Regions from separate parts of the Homo sapiens genome. Here all the other regions are linked to region 2. Evidence: promoter capture Hi-C in 16 types of primary human blood cells and fetal thymus (Javierre and others, 2016). All regions are on one chromosome and are shown on one strand. The core of a region is centred on a gene start or on the middle of the fragment in contact, and the rest is flanking DNA. Distances in the headings are between cores, read along the strand shown. Region 1 has its middle 68 kb from the start of FIRRE. Region 2 holds the start of FRMD7 (FERM domain containing 7). Region 3 has its middle 43 kb from the start of FIRRE.

Region 1 (2,898 bases), core at 209-2,708, 230 kb after region 2:
TCAACACTTTTGAAGAGTACAGACCAGTTATTTTGTAGAATGTCTCTCAATGCATCCTGTCCTTTCTATTCTGTGTTTTAATGAGCGCCTCATACAATTATGATGTAAGCTCAAGTTTGGAGATCACTGCAGGTCTAGCCTTGTCAACACCTTTCCTCCATTTTCTCAAAACGTATTTCAAACTTTTGTCAGTCTTTTCAAACCCCCTACATTGCATACTCCTTCATTTTCACAAAAAATCTAGACCTTAGAGCAGAGGTTTCTAGTCTTTCTATTGCCATTACCAAAAAACTTTTGTGCCATACTATATCCTTTCTACCCACTTTTTTCAATTGAAGAAGGCACCTTTCAGCTACTCAATGAAAAGCCATCTCTCTCAATCGATAGATAGATGATAGATAGATAGATAGATAGATAGATAGATAGATAGATAGATAAATAGATAGATAGATAGATATTCTGGGTTGCAACTCCTCTGTTCAGTGACTTTCTCCATCAATCAACTATATTCTGAATAAGCTTTGAATCTATTGATTTTTGGTCCCTACCCCATAAATTTCTCCATTCTCTCCTATCTTTAAAAGTCCCCCATATCACCCTCTAACAGATCCTGTAACTTCTTCTGTTTTATATCCAAGAGAACTACATTAGCTATTTGTTCTTCTTCGCCAGTATTTGATTCACACCTCACAGAAATCTATTTTACCCCATACATCTTTGAAACCATCTTTCCAAATCACCAATGACAAGAATGCCAGGGAGAGAGTTACAAATTTTAAATAAGTCATCAGGAAAGGCCTTACTGAAAAGGCAAAATCTTTCCTCCTATGTCTCTAACCACCTTTATTCATACTGCTTTCTGAAGTAGGTCTTCCGCCTGTCCCATAAATGTTGATGTTTACCAAGATTCTGTGGTTCCATCCTCTTCTCTTTCCTTCCAAATTTATATGAGCAGCTTAGGCCTCTCTCCAGAACTCCAGGCAAACATGTTGGCTAAATCAGAACACATTTGAGTAAGTATTCCATGCCTCATTATGGCATCACTCTCCTTATCTTTATCACCTGGGAATTATTCTTCATGCTTCCCCCTGTATACCCAAAACCCAAAAAGAGGAGATTTTGCAAAGTAGAGCTGAGAAAGGCATGAAAATCTACAAAGGGGAATCAAGATAAGGATTGAAAAGTTTTGATCAAGAGAGACAGCATCGACTCAAGAAAACACTGGATTAGTGTAGGAGAAAGAAGGATAGGACAGAAGAGGAAGAGACCTAGTTACAGGTACCCTATAAACGTGCTGTGTTAGAAGACTTTGGGAACTAGTTGGCCAAGACGGCAATGAGAAGGATTAGATAAGTTACATAATGTATATGGGGTCTCATGGGGAAGAAGGAGAAAAACAATCACAATCTTGGCCATGATTTTCAGGGAGAACACATATGCTAAGCTCAAAAATGTGTGTAAGGATTGGGAGTAAAAATGGCCAGATGGGTTGTTAAAGTACACCATGGAAGACAAAGCAATGAAACAGGAGATGGGAAAGAATAATAATTTATTCTTTTTCCAGTTTATCCTTTTTATGAGAAATTGATGTGACGGAAATCCAATACTTACAGAAATGATGTTGAAAAAACATTTATTATGATACATAAAACGCTTTAAAAGAAGAAATTATGAGTATAAGGAATAATAATTTATGCAATAATACTTCTAAAATGATAAAGTATTTTCCATATGAAAGAGAATTTTTATCATGAGATGGAATCACCTTAACATGGAATTTGAGGGTCTGTTGCACATTAGTTCAAAGAAGGTGTTTGCCTGTAAAATGAGATCTGAGGAGGAATTCTTAGATGATAGTTGCATAAACCCTATCTTGTGTATTAATTCCATTCATCTTGTGTGACAAGTACCAACAAAGCGTAGGTCACAAAAAAATTGCTGTTGTTACCCTAAAAAAGAACCTCTCCCAAGGAGCTGCTATGGTGGTTCTAGTTAGTACTACTCTCTTTGTATACTTATTTTTGAACACACTTGTGTTTTTAGAGCTTAAAGTGGTTCCCAAAATGCTTATATTCTATAATTAATCAAGATAAATGCTAAAGAAATCCTTGTTCAACTCTAGCCATGACTTTGTAGAGTTTGTACAAATGTATTAGACTCTACCGTACATTTGTACAACTGCTTAAATATGAGCCTTCTTCTCTTTTTATTTAGGACCTATAAAGGCAAAGGAAGGCTGATAAAGTTGTGTAGCCTACTGGATCCTGAAGAAAGGTGCTTATATTAGGTTATATTACGTCAATGATTCTGGTCCATTTCTGGTCAATAGTCAAACTTATAATTAAATAGTCTATTAATCTCATAAATAACGTAACTGGGTGATTGACTGAAGCTTTGACAGAAAGAAGTAGTGGCTTATTTTTGCATTTATGCTGTATCTCCTCATAAATAATTTTTGCCAGTTTTTAAGCAAATTGGCTAGACACTTTGTACTTTTTTGATAAATTTAAAATCAAACAGTTATGATGCCATGTGAATGGCCATAAATTTATTTTGCTTTTTAACGGGCTGTTCCATCTGTCATTTTAGATACAACCTAATATGCTAAATTAGACTATATGATGCTAAAACAACCAGGCAATTCGATGAAAACCAAACTAGTAAAAGTGGCATGAAGTAAAGCCAACATCTAGTGGATTTACTGAAATCTCACTCGTTGCTCGACTGTTCTGTCATTGTTCTTCAATTGACAGATACTTAACAGGTTTAGGTCCTCCACCTCCATATAGGCCCAAACAAAATCTGATTAATCAAAATGGTTCCACAAAGTCAAAGCTTACCAGAAATTATGAAGTAATACTAGTCGAGTTTCAGGATGCATGTTCCCTGGAGCCCTTA
Region 2 (2,700 bases), core at 94-2,593:
TGATTCTGTAAGTTGGTCCCTCAACCGTACTTAGAGAAATAGTGTTTTAAAGCAGTGGTCCACAAAGTATTCTGCTCATGTGACCCCCAAAAGTATTTTGAAAAATCATGTGTCCCCTCACCCATCTAAGTTGACATCTAAAATTTTTCATGGGAAGTTAAATACTTGACAAAGTATGTGTTTGCTGGTGTCATATAAATATTGGTATTTTAAAATAAAAACTGTTACATCACTATTTTAAACATATCCGGTACAATTTAAATATCACAACAATTTGACACCCTTTATTCATTTATAAAAATAAACGAGCTAGTTCTTTAGTAGTTGAACATTTTAAATTGGCTTTTCTTCTTCTATATTTTCATACCACTTTCAGCCAAGAATCCTATCGTAATGTAATCTACTGTGCTTGGCATCTTTTAATCATTCACCCATTATCTTCTTGTCAACAAAAAATACAAATGGAGGTAAGTTTTCTTAGTTCTTGCCTTAAGTGTTATCTCAGTCCAGAATAAATGTCATCGTAATTATTGTTATATAATGAAAATGATATTAATGTAATTCTTTGATGACTGTTTTATTAGAACGTTCTTTATCCTAATTAGTTCATTTATCCAAGAATACATGAATGTTATTTACAGCTGAGATGGGGTTCGACCTTAGTTGTATTCCTTGTTTCATTTCTTTATAGATGTAAGCACATAAATTCTATGGGAATAGAAAGAAAAAAAATTGGTTACCAATAGGGGTGTATTGGGAACACAGAAAAGAGGGAACAGGAGTGGAAGTGAAGTTTTCTATATACCTTTTTATATAGTTTTTATTTCTAAATCATGTGAATTCAGATAATTAAAATTATGCATAATTTTATATTATATATGTTTCTATATAATAGCAATTATATGGATATATTATATCTATATAATTATATATGGATATATTATATCTATATAATTATATATGGATATATTATATCTATATAATTATATATAGATATATATAAGCATAGATAGATAGATAGATAGATAGATAGATAGATAGATAGATAGATAGATGCTTCCTAGCTTGGCCATGAAATTTCTAGTACAATTTGAGATTAACTTGAATCTTTTTACTTTTGAGAATGGCTATTCTCAGTTTATTAAAGCTTGATCTAGGGTTTTCAAATTGTGCCCTTGTGAAATAAAGAAAATCCCCAGGGACCACAAATGCTTGCTTTCTTTATATTTTTCTTTGAAGAAAGGAGCTGAGTTTAAGAAGGCTAGAGGAAGTCCAGTTAGATTTGATATTGACCAAACAGGAGACTGCCCAGATGCTATTGATCCCCTGCACTTGGCAGCACAAATGCCCTTGGGTGTGCATTACTTCAAGCAAACGGAAGTGTGCCCCGCTGACAGTGGGAATGCCTGGCTGGGGGTGGGGGGGCCCGAGTGCACCACATCCAGCTGGGAGTGAAATTCCTGGAGAAAGCACCCACAGCACTCTGAGCCTGCTTGCAGCCCAACGGCCTCGCTGAGAATGCTACATTTAAAAGTGCAGTTTTTGGATGATTCCCAGAAGATTTTTGTGGTTGATGTAAGTGGAAATCACATTGCTATTATTCCTTTATTATTCATTCAATAATTGTCATTTGTGAACAGCCCATTAGAGAGCAATGTTATGTCTTCTTTAGGACTGAATGAAGGAGGACTGTGATTTTTAGCTTTGGAAAAATAATCTGTATTTAACATCACAATGTAGTTCATATTTTTCCATTAACCTTTCTCTTAGAACAAGTTGTCTTTTCTCAAGGGACAACAATAGCAAATTTTAAAGACAGGATAACTATTTGCAAAAAGTAAAGCAGCAATAAACTAGTTCTTTTACCCAATAAGGTATTGTTGTTCATTGAAATTATGTCTGTGGGTCTCACCCCATGAGCATTTGTGGGGAGAAAACTGTTGTTCTGAGGGAAAGGAGTGGGGGAAGCTATCCTCCTTTTCTGAAGAAAACCTATGGGTTATAAGGGGTAGAATTATGTAGTTGTAATGAGAACTTCAGGAAGGAATGACAAGTATGAGAGAGAAAAATAGGATAAGAGACTATTTAGTTTGATTTAGTACTTATAGTTCAGAGTTCTTAATAAATTCCTAGCTACAAGATGATTGCATACAATTATACCTCATCTCTTCAAGAAAGAACAAATGTATTAAGCACATCATTTGGTGCTCATGTTCCAACATCTTAAGATATGTACATTTTGATGTCAGGATTTATGTATGAGCATTTTGAAAAGTTCTACATTTTTATTGGAACCAAAAATGCTATTTGCTCTGATATTTACATTAGCCACTAACAAGAGACAAATAGTTTATTTTCTCTGAAATTCATACAAAATGTTGGTTTTTTTCTTTTATACATAAACTGACAACTGCTGTGGCTCAGCCATGATGTTGTGTGTGTGGGTAGCCCATTTTTCCAATGAGTATTTTATTTTTATTTGAATCATGTGCTTTGTGAGTGATGACTTCATGTCTTCATCTGCTGTTTTGCTGTCTCTTCCTTTCAGTTTTATGCGCAAAAGGCATTTCTAGTTCCACGGACCTGAATGATTTGTTTTTGTAGCAAATAGCTTCCATTAGAGGTATGAGGCATTTCCTATTCTTTCTTGGAACTATATTTAAGGGGTGGAAAATATCTTTTGAGTAGTTTATCCATTTG
Region 3 (2,880 bases), core at 59-2,558, 250 kb after region 2:
CCATTTACCAGATAACCTAGTAGGATACCTTTTCTTTTTTTCTTTCTTTTTTTTTTTTTTTTTGAGATGGAGTCTCGCTCTGTTGCCCAGGCTGGAGTGCAGTGCAGTGGCGCTATCTCGGCTTACTGCAAGCTCCACCTCCCGGGTTCATGCCATTCTCCTGCCTCAGCCTCTGGAGTAGCTGGGAATACAGGCACCCGCTGCCACGCCCGGCTAATTTTTTGTATTTTTAGTAGAGACCGGGTTTCACCATGTTAGCCAGGATGGTCTTAATCTCCTGACCTCGTGATCCACCCACCTCAGCCTCCCAAAGTGCTAGGATTACAGGCGTGAGCCATCACGCCTGGCCTAGGATACCAATTTTAAGTAGGATTTAGAGTAGGGGGAAGAAAGCTTTGCAGCAAATCCAAGCTGCAGTGCAAGCTTCCCTGCCACTTGGGCCTATGACTCAATAGACCCAATGATGTTAGAGGTAGCTGTGGCAAACACAGAAGTTTATGGAGTCCTAGTAGTTGAATCACAATAGAGGCTTCTGTAGTTTGGAGTTGGGCTATACCTTCTTCTGTCTGCAAAGTAATCTCCATTTGAAAAGCAGCTTCCGATTTGTTACTGGGCCTGGTAGAAACAAATACCTGACTATGGGGCAACAAATGACTACATGACTCCAGCTCACCATTCTGTGTTGGGTATTATAGAGTCCACTGAACTAAGAAATTGAATGTGCACAGGACCATTTCACTATAAAATATAAATGCAGTACATAAAACAGGTGAGAGTAGTTCCAGAAGGTGTAAGGAAACCATACAAGCAGGTGGCTAGACCCCTCTAGTATTTACCCGTGCTGCTTGGCTGCCTCTTTCTCTACCAAAACCTGTGGCATCATGAGGAGTACCCTATAAGCAGGTACAATAACAAGAAATTCATGGGCCTAAGCGTTAGGCACTTAGCAGAGCCACTCCAGAACCAGGCCCATGAATTTGTGTATACAGGCACCAGCAATGCACTATAGCCCCATGCAGTGTCAGGCCTAAAAAGCAAGAGTTATTCACAATAGCAAAGACATGGAATCAACCTATATGCCCATCAATGGTGGATTGGATAAAGAAAATGTGGTACATATATAGTATGAAATACTACATAGCAGTGGCCAGGGGCGGTGGCTCACGCCTGTAATCCCAGCACTTTGGGAGGCCGAGGCAGGCGGATCACAAGGTCAGGAGTTCAAGACCAGCCTGACCAACATGGTGAAAACCCGTCTCTACTACAAATACAAAAATTAGCTGGGCATGGTGGCATGCACCTGTAATCCCAGCTACTCAGGAGACTGAGACAGGAGAATCGCTTGAACCCAGGAGGCAGAGGTTGCAGTGACCCAAGATTGCGCCACTGCACTCCAGCCTGGGCAACAGAGTGAGGCTCCATCTCAAAAAAAAAAAAAAAAGAAAGAAAGAAAGAAATACTACATAGCCATAAAAAAACAGAATCACGTCCTTTGCAACAACATGGATATAGCTGAAGGACATTATCCTAAGTGAATTAACACAAGAACAGAAAACCATATACCACATGTTCTCACTTATAAGTGGAAGCTAAACATTGAATACACGTATACACAAAGATGATAACAATACACCCTGGGGACCACTAGATGGGGCGAGGGGAGGAGACCATGGTCTGAAAAACCACCTATTGACACTATGGTCACTGTCTGGGTGATGGGATCATTTGTACACCAAACCTCAGCAACACGCAATATACCCATGTGACAAACCTGCACATATACCTTTTAATCTATAATAAATATTGAAATTATTTTTTAAAAATATAAAACAGTAGTAAATAGAAATCCTCCCAGTGAGTAGAAGTGTGGGTAGTATATTTGCTTCTCCACATTGTTTGGAAGGACAAATGGCCAGAGACATGAATCTATACTGCTTCATGAGAAATGGCTAACAAATTAGATGGCTGGAAAAGGATTTGAAAAAAATAACATTAAAAATTTTGGGAAAAAAGAGGTTTCTAGGAAAGGTAAATGAATGAACTTCTCTGAATGGGGACAGGATGTGATGATCCTAGTGCCCCATCTAATTGCCAACCAGAGGGCATGCACTGCAATATCAATAATCAGGTAGACAAGATGACATGATCTGTGACTATCAGTCAGCTTCTTTACCTGTGCCATCCTGAAGCTTGCCCAATGACCCATTGTATAAAGCAGCAATGACAGTAGTGAAGAAGGCCATATTTTTGGTCAAAACCAAAGACTTCCTCTTATCAAGGTTCATCTTGCTACGAACACTGTTGAGCTCCTAATATTATATGAGCAGGGACAAATATTGCTCCCTAGTTTGGCACCATTCCCTTTGGAGACTAGCCAGTCATCTGGAGAAGGTTGACTCTATCATATAGAGGGAGTGATATGTCCTCACAAAAATAGATACATATTCTGGATATGTATCTTCATTGACCTTCATTGACCTTCAATTGACCACAAATCTTTGGCTTTCACCACCAGTTGTGAACTTAAAAATGCCATATTTGTTGCCATGGCATTTCACACAATGTTACCTCTGATCAAAGAACTCATTTTATAGTGAGAGTAGTGTGGCAATGGACATACACCACCAGAATTCACTGATCTTACGATTTGCTCCATTACCCAAATGATAGAGTAGAGAAATGACTTTTTGAAGGCCTAGTTGCAGTTTATGGTGAAATAACCTGCAAGGTTAGGGTGCTATCTTACAAGATGCAGTATATGCCTTAAGTCAGGGTCTAATAAATGTTGCCATTTCTTCCATCTTTAGACTACAGGCATCTAGGATGGAAGTAAGAGTGGCCATCTCACTATTACACCTAATAATTGGTTTATAATTTTTT

Evidence for each region. The method cuts DNA at HindIII sites, captures the fragments that hold promoters and counts their contacts. A CHiCAGO score of 5 or more calls a contact.
Region 1: a fragment that was not itself captured here is called in contact with the fragment with the promoter of FRMD7 in region 2 in 3 of 17 cell types (naive B cells, activated CD4 T cells and monocytes); the score reaches 5.8 in naive B cells.
Region 3: a contact is called between a fragment that was not itself captured here and the fragment with the promoter of FRMD7 in region 2, in 2 of 17 cell types (neutrophils and non-activated CD4 T cells). The highest score is 6.6, in neutrophils.

Annotation. Positions count from the first base shown.
Region 1 is chrX:131,896,748-131,899,645 of GRCh38, reverse strand. No RefSeq gene overlaps it. Among named protein-coding and RNA genes, the nearest start is that of FIRRE, 68 kb to the right of the region's middle. The HindIII fragment of the contact is 1,873 bases long and covers 522-2,394 here.
Region 2 is chrX:132,126,663-132,129,362 of GRCh38, reverse strand. FRMD7 (FERM domain containing 7) reads left to right here and starts at 1,343. Exons shown (of 12, transcript NM_194277.3): 1 at 1,343-1,575. The coding sequence starts at 1,519. The HindIII fragment of the contact is 2,038 bases long and covers 1,150-2,700 here.
Region 3 is chrX:131,872,135-131,875,014 of GRCh38, reverse strand. No RefSeq gene overlaps it. Among named protein-coding and RNA genes, the nearest start is that of FIRRE, 43 kb to the right of the region's middle. The HindIII fragment of the contact is 1,766 bases long and covers 426-2,191 here.